Regions from separate parts of the Homo sapiens genome. Here region 2 is linked to region 1. The links are contacts of gene promoters, found by promoter capture Hi-C in human tissues and cell types (Jung and others, 2019). All regions are on one chromosome and are shown on one strand. The core of a region is centred on a gene start or on the middle of the fragment in contact, and the rest is flanking DNA. Distances in the headings are between cores, read along the strand shown.

The links. The method cuts DNA at HindIII sites, captures the fragments that hold promoters and counts their contacts. A contact is called where the count stands out against the background at its distance.
Region 2: a contact is called between a fragment that was not itself captured here and the fragment with the promoter of ENAH in region 1, in 1 of the 25 tissues and cell types used here (aorta).

The regions. Positions count from the first base shown.
Region 1 is chr1:225,650,498-225,655,545 of GRCh38, reverse strand. It overlaps ENAH (ENAH actin regulator), which reads left to right and starts at 2,423. Exons shown (of 14, transcript NM_018212.6): 1 at 2,423-2,860. The coding sequence starts at 2,856. RefSeq lists a silencer at 2,444-2,573. The HindIII fragment of the contact is 16,817 bases long and covers 1-5,048 here.
Region 2 is chr1:225,691,305-225,696,352 of GRCh38, reverse strand. LOC102723834 (a long non-coding RNA gene) reads right to left here and starts at 4,666. Exons shown (of 4, transcript XR_426933.4): 1 at 4,560-4,666. The HindIII fragment of the contact is 6,670 bases long and covers 1-5,048 here.

The DNA of each region.
Region 1 (5,048 bases), core at 1,174-3,673:
CTCTGTCGGATTTACTGTATTGCTATGAATGGACTAAGGCAAATTGGTGTGACTTCTCTGTGGTCGAATATGTTTTATTAATACTTTTCCAAGATGGTTCAATATGTCTTAATTTTTCCAAGAAAAAACTCTCCACAGCACATGTTCAAATACTTGAGGTATGTGTTTCAAACTACAGGGAGAAACTTACGTAAGACAATGACCCTCATAGTTGGTAGCTATGATTTTTAATCATGCCTGTTGCACTAATTGATCCAGTTACTTGAGCTCTATGTTTCCCTGTCTCTACTTGCAATATGGCAACTAGAACATTTGACTGGCAAGTTTGTTTTCTCTCCAGTGGTTGGAGATCCTTGAATAAAATGCCCTCTGTAATGGTAAGCTGTAATTAGATATGTGGGTGGAAATTAGCGTTCTTCAAGTACACCATGTTTAAGGCAGAGGCATCATGCTTTCTACTACCTGAGGCCACCTTGATCCTCTGCCATAGCTCCGGGTCACTGCTTCTATAGGGCTGTTGGTCTAAGGCTGCCGGTTCCAAAAAGAAAATAACTCGGTATTGAGCTCTGAAACCAGGAATTTTATTTATTTATTTATTTATTTATTTATTTATTTATTTTTTAGATGGAGTCTCGCTCTGTCACCTAGGCTGGAGTGCAGTGGTGTGATCTGAGCTCACTACAACCTCCTCTTCCCGGGTTCAAGCGATTCTCTTGACTCAGCTGGGATTACAGGCGTGCACCACCACGCCCGGCTGTTTTTTTATTTTTTATTTTTAGTAGAGACAGGGTTTCGCCATGTTGGCCAGGCTGGTCTGGAACTCCTGACCTCAGATGATTCGCCTGCCTCAGCCTCCCGAAGTGCTGAGATGACAGGCGTGAGCCACCGCACCCGGCTGAAACCAGGAAGCTTTTTTTATGGTTAAAAATGGGCTACACAGTTCAATTATAGACAAATCAGGCATTGACCACGGATCACTATAACCTGTCTTTTCATTTGGAAGTGTACATTATCCCAACCTTCCTAACTATCTTTTGAATGGTACCTGCATCTTAAAACAAAACACCAAAACTTTTGAATGGATTCCTGGAGTCATGGTAGGTCCTCCATTTTGGATGAGATCCTTCAGCAATAGGATCCCTGTAGCAACAACCCTTTTCTATCCTCCTCACCTTTTATACAGAAAGTACATCCCTGTCTTCCGGACTAAAAGGGGGCCGTAATTCGTACAGTTAAAAATTTTATTATTGGATTTGTTTTTAGATTTAAAAAAAACCGAAAACAAAACCTTCAACAACGATCAATTCTGGCTTCCTGGATGCCCTCCTCCCCGACTTGACTTGAAATGAAATTGCCTCGCCAGTATTTTATATCTACTTTTTAAGGGAGGTGACTTCAAGACCATTGGGAATGACGAAAAATTTAAAATTATCATTAGTTCCTCTCTCTCCCCGCCCCCTGCCCGGGATTCCCTCTTTGCTAATGACGCTGGAAAGCGGCTCCACTGGCTGCGTTTCTCTTCTTCCACTCTTGCGGCAACACACTGTTCCGCGCGCGTCTCCCGGCGACTGCGTTTCCCCGAGAGTCGGCTGCGTTCGTTTGGGGATGAAGTCATCCCTATACCTAGTGTGCACATCAACTCGTTCCATCGGCGCAGCACGCTGGGATTCCTCGGGAAGAAAAGGAGCGAAGGGAACAATGATGACCATATTTTCCATTTATATGCCCCTCCTCAACTCCGCAGGAATCGCTGGGCGCAGCCGCGGCGAGGGCGGGCAGTTGGGCTGACCGGGATGCCCCCCGATTCCCTCATCCCCGTCCTGAGACCGCAACAGGGCGGGCTGAGCACTCGCCCCGCGCGAGGGCACCCGGCCGCGAGCCGACCCGGAGTCTCCTGGCCCGGCCCTGTGCCCAGTCACGCGTCCAAGCTCCCCACGCCGGTGCCTACGGGTCTGGCGCCCAGGAGGTCTCGGCGCCTCGGTCTCCGCACCGTGGCCGTGGGGGAGGCCTCGGAGCTCCCCAAGCCTCTGGGGAGCGGGAGGCGACGGGGAGGGGGCCGACGGTCAAGGACAACCACGGGCGAGGAACCCCGGCCGACAACTGGCCGGAGGTGTTGGGCGGGAGGGGGGGGTGGTGGCCCGCCCGAATCCCAGAGGGGTGCAGGGGGCGGGGTAGGGAGGCAACAAAGAGCCTCTCTCCGCCGCCGCCGCCGTCGCGCTCGCTCTCTCCCAGCCTCGCTCTCCGCAGTCCGGCGGGGGCCCGGCCGCCGGCGCGGGGGAGTGCGCCCGGCCCCCCGCCTCCCCTTTCCTCCCCTCCCCCCGCACCGCCCCCTCGCCCCCGGGGGAAGGAGGGGAGGAGGGCGGCGCCTGCGTGTTCCTCCGCCGCGCGCCCCGCCTCCTCCCGGGTTCCTCGCGGCGATCCCGACTCTCCTCCCGCGGCTGCAGCAGCTGCCGGTTGCACACGGCCTCGGCGGCGGCGCGGCGAGCGCGGGCCTGTGGAGCGGCGGCCGGGCGCGCGGCCCCGGCGGGCACCCCTCAGAGGGCGGCCGAGGAAGCTCCGGGAGGAGGAGCAGGACCACGAGGAGGTGGGAGGCGGCGGCCGCCTGGGGACCAGCTCCGCGCCTCGGCCTCTCCGCCCCCTCCCCAGCCTTTCTCTCGCCCTCTTCTCCCACACTCCCGGCCGGCGCCTCGGCTTTGTGCGAGGAGATGGTGTAGCCCCCTGGCCGCCGAAGGAGGAGCCGGACACTTGTCTCCCGTCTCCGAGCTGCTCCCCACCCCTGGAGGAGAGACCCCCCCCTCGGCTCGGCGCCTTCTGCGTCTCCCGGCTGGTGGGGAAGCCTCTGCGCCGCCGGCACCATGAGGTGAGGGGCGCGCGGGGCGGGGGCCGGGCGGGCCATTGTGCCGCGGGAGCCGCGACCCCCGTTCTCCTCGGACCCCGCCTTCCCTCTCCCGGCCCGGCGCGTCTCCCCTGGTCTCCGGTCTGTTCCTCCCCCCTCCGCCTTTTGTCCCTTCCAATTTCTCTTTCTTTCTTGGAAACCTCCCCAACCCGTGTGGTTTGGGGGTCTCGCTTCATCGTTCTCTCATTTTTCCTCAAATGCTCTTCTTTCACCCAGGATTTCCCTTCCTAAATTTAATTTGCGCCTGGCTCCCTCCCCCAAGCCTTTGCAAGCGAAACCCGGGAGATGGGGAGGGGTTCGAGAATCGAAGCGTGCGTGTTGCTGGGAAACAGGTATTTTTTCGTATATATGTAAAAATTTCATGCACTTTTGCCTCCGAACTCTCGTGTTTAATTAAAAAAGGAAGAAAAGTTTGAAAGGTCTGAAATCTCTGCGGGTAATAAAGTGCCTCTGGTAGGGGTAGGTGAAGGAGCTGTGAAAGGTGAAATTTCACGATGGTGGGGGAAGGGAAAGAATTGATTAGGTTCACGTGGTGGGGGCAGTAAAAGACTGGGATAAGTAAGTTGGTAGGGGTGTGTAAGCGGGGGCGGGGAAGGGATCTGTTTGGAAAAGCCTTTTCTCCCCTTTCTCTGTAGCAGCCTGTGTTGCATTGCAGCAGCTGCTTTTTCCCTTTGCTCTGTACTCAATAAAACAGGAGCTAAATTATTTTTGCGGCCCCGAAGAATTGAATGTACTGTCGTAAAATATTTTTTTAATTGATACGATGAAACATATGGTATGATATTTTTCTTTATTGTTTCTCAAATTGTGTAGGAGAATAAACCGTGATGTGGTGTGTCATTCATTGGAGATTTTTTTTCCAGCCTTTCCTAAACCTGTTCTGTGTCCATAACCTTCTCTTTTCGGATTGGTGCAAGACTTCGTGTGAAATGGGACTTGGTAGACTGAAGGCTGATCCATTCTGCGTTATCATCCTTAAAGGCCTTCCTTTTGGGTTAAACAATTGTGGATAAAGTAAATTACTCCATTTCTCTCTCCTGGAAGAGATAGTCTTACAGTTCATTTGGATTTGAATCTCCTTTGTGTTAAAGATTAATGGCCAACCGTTGCTAAGACCTTTATAATGTAATACAATGAGATTTGAATGATATAATCTACAAATTCCTTCGCTTTGGCAAGAAAATGTCATGTCATTGGAATTCTTTCTCAATTTCGGTAGTTTCCATTTTAAACTTTGCTTTTCATTTTTTTTTTCTATCAAGGTTAAACGTGTTTCCATTTTGCTTTTATATATATATTGTGATATATCTTTGTTGAATTTTTACTTAGGCTTACTGTGAATTTGAATTTTTTTTTCTGATTCCAAGTTACCTGTATTTATGATGGCCTTAAAGAGTGAGTTTAATGTGGTGTCTCTAGGCGACTGACCCCTTTTCCCTTGATGATTTCACACAAGTTATTTTCAAATATAAGCGATGAGTTTAAATAGTAATTATAGCATACGAACCAAAAAACACAATCTTTGTAAAATATGGCTTGAAAACTTTGAGTCGTATGTTTGAGCATGACTTCTTTTTTTTTAAATCAAGTTACTGATGTCCTTAAACTCAGGAACTATAATATACATACTGTTATATCTTGTAATATTATATGTTGTTGGTTTCTGTTTTAGAGATCTAATGCCGTAGGGATCTTGCAGACCAGAAGTTATCAGTTGTTTCAAACTTTGGGTAAACTTATCTTAACATTGAGAAATATAAAACAGGGAAAGTTTTTTTTTTTTTTTTTTTTTTTTTTTTTTAAATGCAGTCTTGCTCTCTTGCCCAGGCTGGAGTGCAGTGGCGCGGTCTCGGCTCACTGCAACCTCCGCCTCCTGGGTTCAAGCGATTCTCCTGCCTCAGCCTCCCAAGTAGCTGGGATTACAGGCGGGTATCACCACGCCCGGCTAATTTTTTGTATTTTTAGTAGAGACGGGGTTTCACCATGTTAGCCAGGATGGTCTCCAACTCCGGACCTCGTGATCCACCAGCTTCGGCCTCCCAAAGTGCTGGGATTACAGGCGTGAGCCACGGTGCCTGGCCGAAAGTGGGTTATTTTTAAATAAAAACAGGAATAGTTGTCTAATTCAAAGATTGTGAACTAAAAAAAAGTT
Region 2 (5,048 bases), core at 1,813-4,312, 40 kb before region 1:
CATTATTCATTTATCACACAGGCATCCCTGGGCAACAGCTGACAAGCGCAAAACAATGCTCTGCAGATTACCAGACTGTCAGGACACTCGATGCAGGCCAGCCATGGCAGCCCCTTCCTCCATTCTCTCCTCCACCCCCATCCCTTGAAGCCTGCTCATGGCAAACATATGGGAGCCATTCAGGCTTATTCCCTCCTTTCCAATGTCTGAGTTATGTTGACAACAGGGGATTTACAACTGCCCAAAATGGAGCGTTGTGTTTCTTTTGGATTATTCCAAGTTTGGGGCCTGTTAAAAGTTTTGTAACTATATAAATATTTATCCAGAGTTTTTGGTTACTATATAAACATAACAAACACGACATTGGACCTAAATGCTGTAAGTCACTTAAAAGTCTTCCAGTTAAGAAAGGGGGCAAACTAATAAAGGGCTTCAGAAATGATTATTTTTATTGTGAAATATTTTTACTGCTATTTTTATGCTGGGTTTTAAAAAGACCAAAATATGTTTATCCTTGACTCTATGTAACTCTTCAGACCATCAGCCAACTTGCTTAAGCATGCTCCTGACCTGCAGAGACATGGGAGAGAATGTGGATGGTGCAGTACAAGGCTTCACCTTTGTGAATATGCTCAGGCCAACAGCTGGAAGCTTAGGATGAGAAATGCTACTCTGAGCTTTGTCACCTTCGAAGGCCAGAGATGTTACTTTATGTTCAAATGTTGTATGTTCACATTTGTTAGTAGGTTCTGGTTAACGCTTACAGATGCTAGGTAGAAAGAGCTGAAACTATTAATGCCCAGATATTAATTATTAAGGATAGACACCAAAGTACCCAGACCTAGGAGGGCTCATGTTGTTAATGAAAAACTAGGGGGGAAATATTATGGTGCGTTATTTTCGTAACCCCTATGTTTGCCATGAAGTTAACCCTCCAGATCTAAGGGTTGAAATTCATGAAGTGTTTGTGTGTGTGTGTGCGTGTGCGTGTGTGTGTGTGAAGTTTGTGTCCTTCAGAGCTGTTGGGGTTGTCTTTTTTTTTTCTTTCTTTTTTAAGACGAGATCTCACTCTGTTACCCAGGCTGGAGTGCAGTGACACGATCATGGCTCCCTGCAGCCTCAAACTCTTGGGCTCAAGCAATCCTCCGACCTTAGCCTCCTGAGTAGCTGGGACTACAGGCACATGCCACCACACCTGGTGATATGGTTTGGCTGTGTCTCCACCCAAATCTCATCTTGAATTCCTATGTGTTGTGGGAGTGACCCATTGGGAGGTAATTGAGTCATAGGGGCAGGTCTTTCCCATGGTGTTCTCATGACAGTAAGTCTCATGAAATCTGATGGTTGTTATAAGGGGGAGTTTTCCTTCACAAGTTCTCTCTTTGCTTGCTGCCATCCATGTAAGATGTGACTTGCTTCTCCTTGCCTTCCGCCATGATTGTGAGGCTTCCCCAGCCACGTGGAACTGTAAGTCCAATTAAACCTCTTTCTTTTGTAAATTGCTCAGTCTCAAGTATGTCTTTATCAGCAGCATGAAAATGAACTAACAGACTGGCTTTTTTTTTTTTTTTGTAATTATAAGGTCTCACTATGTTGCCCAAGCAGGTCTTGAATTTCTGGCCTCAAGTGATCCTCCTACCTTGACCTCCCAAAGTACTGGACTTATAGGTGTGAGCTGCTGTGTCTGGCCTGTTTTTCTAATTAAGGAGGCACACACATAACCTTGGTCTTGGAGGAGGTTTCTGGCCGAACTCTTTGACCCTCTGTAGAAAGCAGTAGGTCCAAGGAGAAAGCAAATTCCTGGGTTCTGTCCTGCTTCCTCAACCCCGGCCTGGCACCATCTCCTACATCATTTTTTGGCTCCCTGTTCCCTTTATCCAGTGGATAAAGTAAGGTGGTCCCTTCTTTGTTCTTTGCAGCAGATCAGACTGGAACCAGGAAACTGATTGTTTTTCTATGTTTGCTGGTACTTGGTAAAAGGAAGCAAACCCTGTAGTGTTGACTTAAGGTTAAATGGGGTGAGTGCTGACTTCATGTGTTCTGGCATGATCTTATCTGTTGGAGATAACACAGGCAAGCCCTGGAGTCTAGTAGAACACAGCGGGGCTGAAGCTCATACAGCTCTGCAGGGCCTTGATGCAACAAATGCTGGAGACTTCATTTCTTTAAAGGACTTAGCTAATGGTCAATTACTATTGTTAGAATATTATTAATCCCATTCTGTATATAAGTAAATGTTGACAGAAAATGGTTTAATGACTTGCTCCAAATTTCATAGCACACCAAGATTATAGTTACAGGAAAAAATAGCTAGATTTTCTCATTTTCTTTTTTTTTGGAGATGGAGTGTCAGTCTTGTTGACCAGGCTGGAATGCAGTGGTGCGATCTCGGCTCACTGCAACCTCCACCTCCTGGGTTCAAGTGATTCTCCTGCCTCAGCCTCCTGAGTAGCTGGGATTACAGGCGCCCACCACCACGCCGGCTAATTTTGTATTTTTTTAGTAGAGACGGGGTTTCACCATGTGGGCCAGGCTGGTCTTGAACTCCTGATCTCAGATGATCCATCTGCCTCAGCCTCCCAAAGTGCTGGGATTACAGGTGTAAGCCACCATGCCCAGCCTAGAATTTCTCATTTTCAAACCCATGCTTTAGCAGGGAGACTTAGCTGTAAATAAACATGCTTTACATGCACAGTAAGAAAATCAGAGAAAATAACATTACAGAATCTAGCATCTTTTAGAGTCTTTGGATGGAAGTTTCTTTTTTTTCCCCCTGTGTACTGTTTGACAGTTTCACTGCTAACATTTTAACTCCTTCACTTCTGTATGCACCATCTAAGAGGTGATGAGTCGTCATTTTCTTTCCCTAAGGACCTGAGGGGCAGAGAGGTTAACAATTTAGCCCAGGACACATTTTTAGAGGTAGAACTATGACCAGAAGTCCTAGATATCCTGACTTTAGATCAGGGCTTTTCTCACAATGCTAGAAACTGACTGCTTGTGTTCTGAGCAACTAGTACATACCTGCACGGATTTTGGACTGTGCTGGGTAGCACGGATTTTGGACTGTGCTGCATAGCACGGATTTTGGACTGTGCTGCATAGCACGGATTTTGGACTGTGCCGGGTCAACTTGCTTTAACTGGAATGGTTTTCTCAAGTTCCTTTCTTGGTATGCCTCTGGGTGAGAGCTGGACAAAAGAGAAATTTGTCCAAGATTAGGAAGGTGGAAGTAAAGCAACAGCCACTACTCTCTGAAGGTCATTGTGGTTTGATGCTCTGACTGGCAGGTGCAGGGGTGCTGGTGGGTTCCAGCTTGTTCAGTTTCCCATTCCACAGCCAGCAACTCTTCCTAAGACCATTAGTGGGGCCGGCTCACCATCAGAAACATAGACTTTTCTACCAGCTCTACTTTCACGGTCCCACTTCAGCAACCAGATGTGCCTAGCTGCCTATATTCCTTGGCAAACTTTGTTCCATCCACACCAGTGCTTCAGGAAGGCTGGTTTGTGACTGATGCTTTAACTCCTTGTCATGCACCCTTCCTTAGCTTCTCCCACCATTGCCTAATATATCCTTCAAAATTTACACATGGTTCTGCTTCCCTGTTTGGGTGCTGACAGAGAGAATACCAACATGGGCTGGGCGTGGTGTCCCATGCCTGTAATCCCAAAACTTTGGGAAGCCAAGGTGGGAGGATGTCTTAAGGCCAGGAGTTCTAGACCAGCCTGGGCAACATAGCAGGACCCCATCTCTAAAAATAAATAAATTTAAAAAGGGAAAAAAAAGAATAAGCAACATGGTGCACCATGAGAGCTGCAGAAGAAACATGAAAGTGTTCCTGCCGTCAAGGGACACATGGCTATTGGGAAGATGGAGCACTTTAACACAGCCAGCTGGGGACTCATGTAGCTTATGGTAAAGTGACAAACGCACAATGCAGTCATTGCAGCCCAAGGTGTCTAGTGTCTCTTAGTGCCAGGCATGAGGAGCTGATTGGGAATGGTCATAGTCAGCATTTTCCATGACTGATGACCACATTGAGATCCAAGTGGAGACCAACTTTTCCTTTCTCTGTTCCAGGCTTTTAGGCTCCTTATCAACACAAGAATGGACATCAAGTTACTTACATATTGGGCCAAAATATTGAGTGCAGATGAAAATAAATGCTGACTTTGAAGATTTCCCATCCAGCCCGCAGAAATTCCCCTGGCCTGCCACACTTGGGTAACTTGAGTTCTGGAATTCCAGACGTGGTTAACCCCAATCCACAAATTTGCTGGAGTTATGAAGCTGAGTGAGAGTACTGCTTTTCTATTATGCATTCCCAATATGTTCTGTTCTGAGCTGACACCACAGAATTTACTTCTCCCACAAGTTTAACCCACTGCATGGAGTGATCATGGCTCACTGTTTTTTGGTAAATACCAAAATACAGATAACAGTTTTTCACAGTACAAATTTTATATCTGACTTGGCTGGAAACTTCCCCAGTCACTCCGTCTAGTTGCCTCATTTTGTTGGGCCTTGGTTTCTTTCAGTTTCCTACTAAAACTTACCTCTTTGGGGAGGCATGAGTATCAATGCTTGGCTACCAATCCAGGTAAGGCCTCTGAATGAAAGGTGATATGGAAGGGCACAAACGATCTGGATACCTATCCCCTGGGAAAGTCCAGGCCTCAGGCCACAGCAATGCCACAGCTTCTGGAAGCTGCCTGGGAACTGAGGTTTTATTCTCCTGTGTGTGTCTACATGCCTGGAGTGTTGACTCTGGAGACCTATGAATACAGTAAATGACATCATAGGTAGCTCAGGTCAATGAAGATTTATTTTTAGCTATGACCCTTGTCTGTTAAATGATCTGAATTTAAAAAGAAAGAGGACACGGAAGAAGGAAAAGAAATGTGAAAGGCAATGAAAGAATGTAAGATTCCTGCTTGATCTTAAAAAGCACTAGAGCAAAAGTCAAGCACAGCTTTCTTATTTCTTTTCAACCAGAAGGGTGTTACAGGAGAAATGTATGAAGGGCGGAGGATATGCCCTCTTGT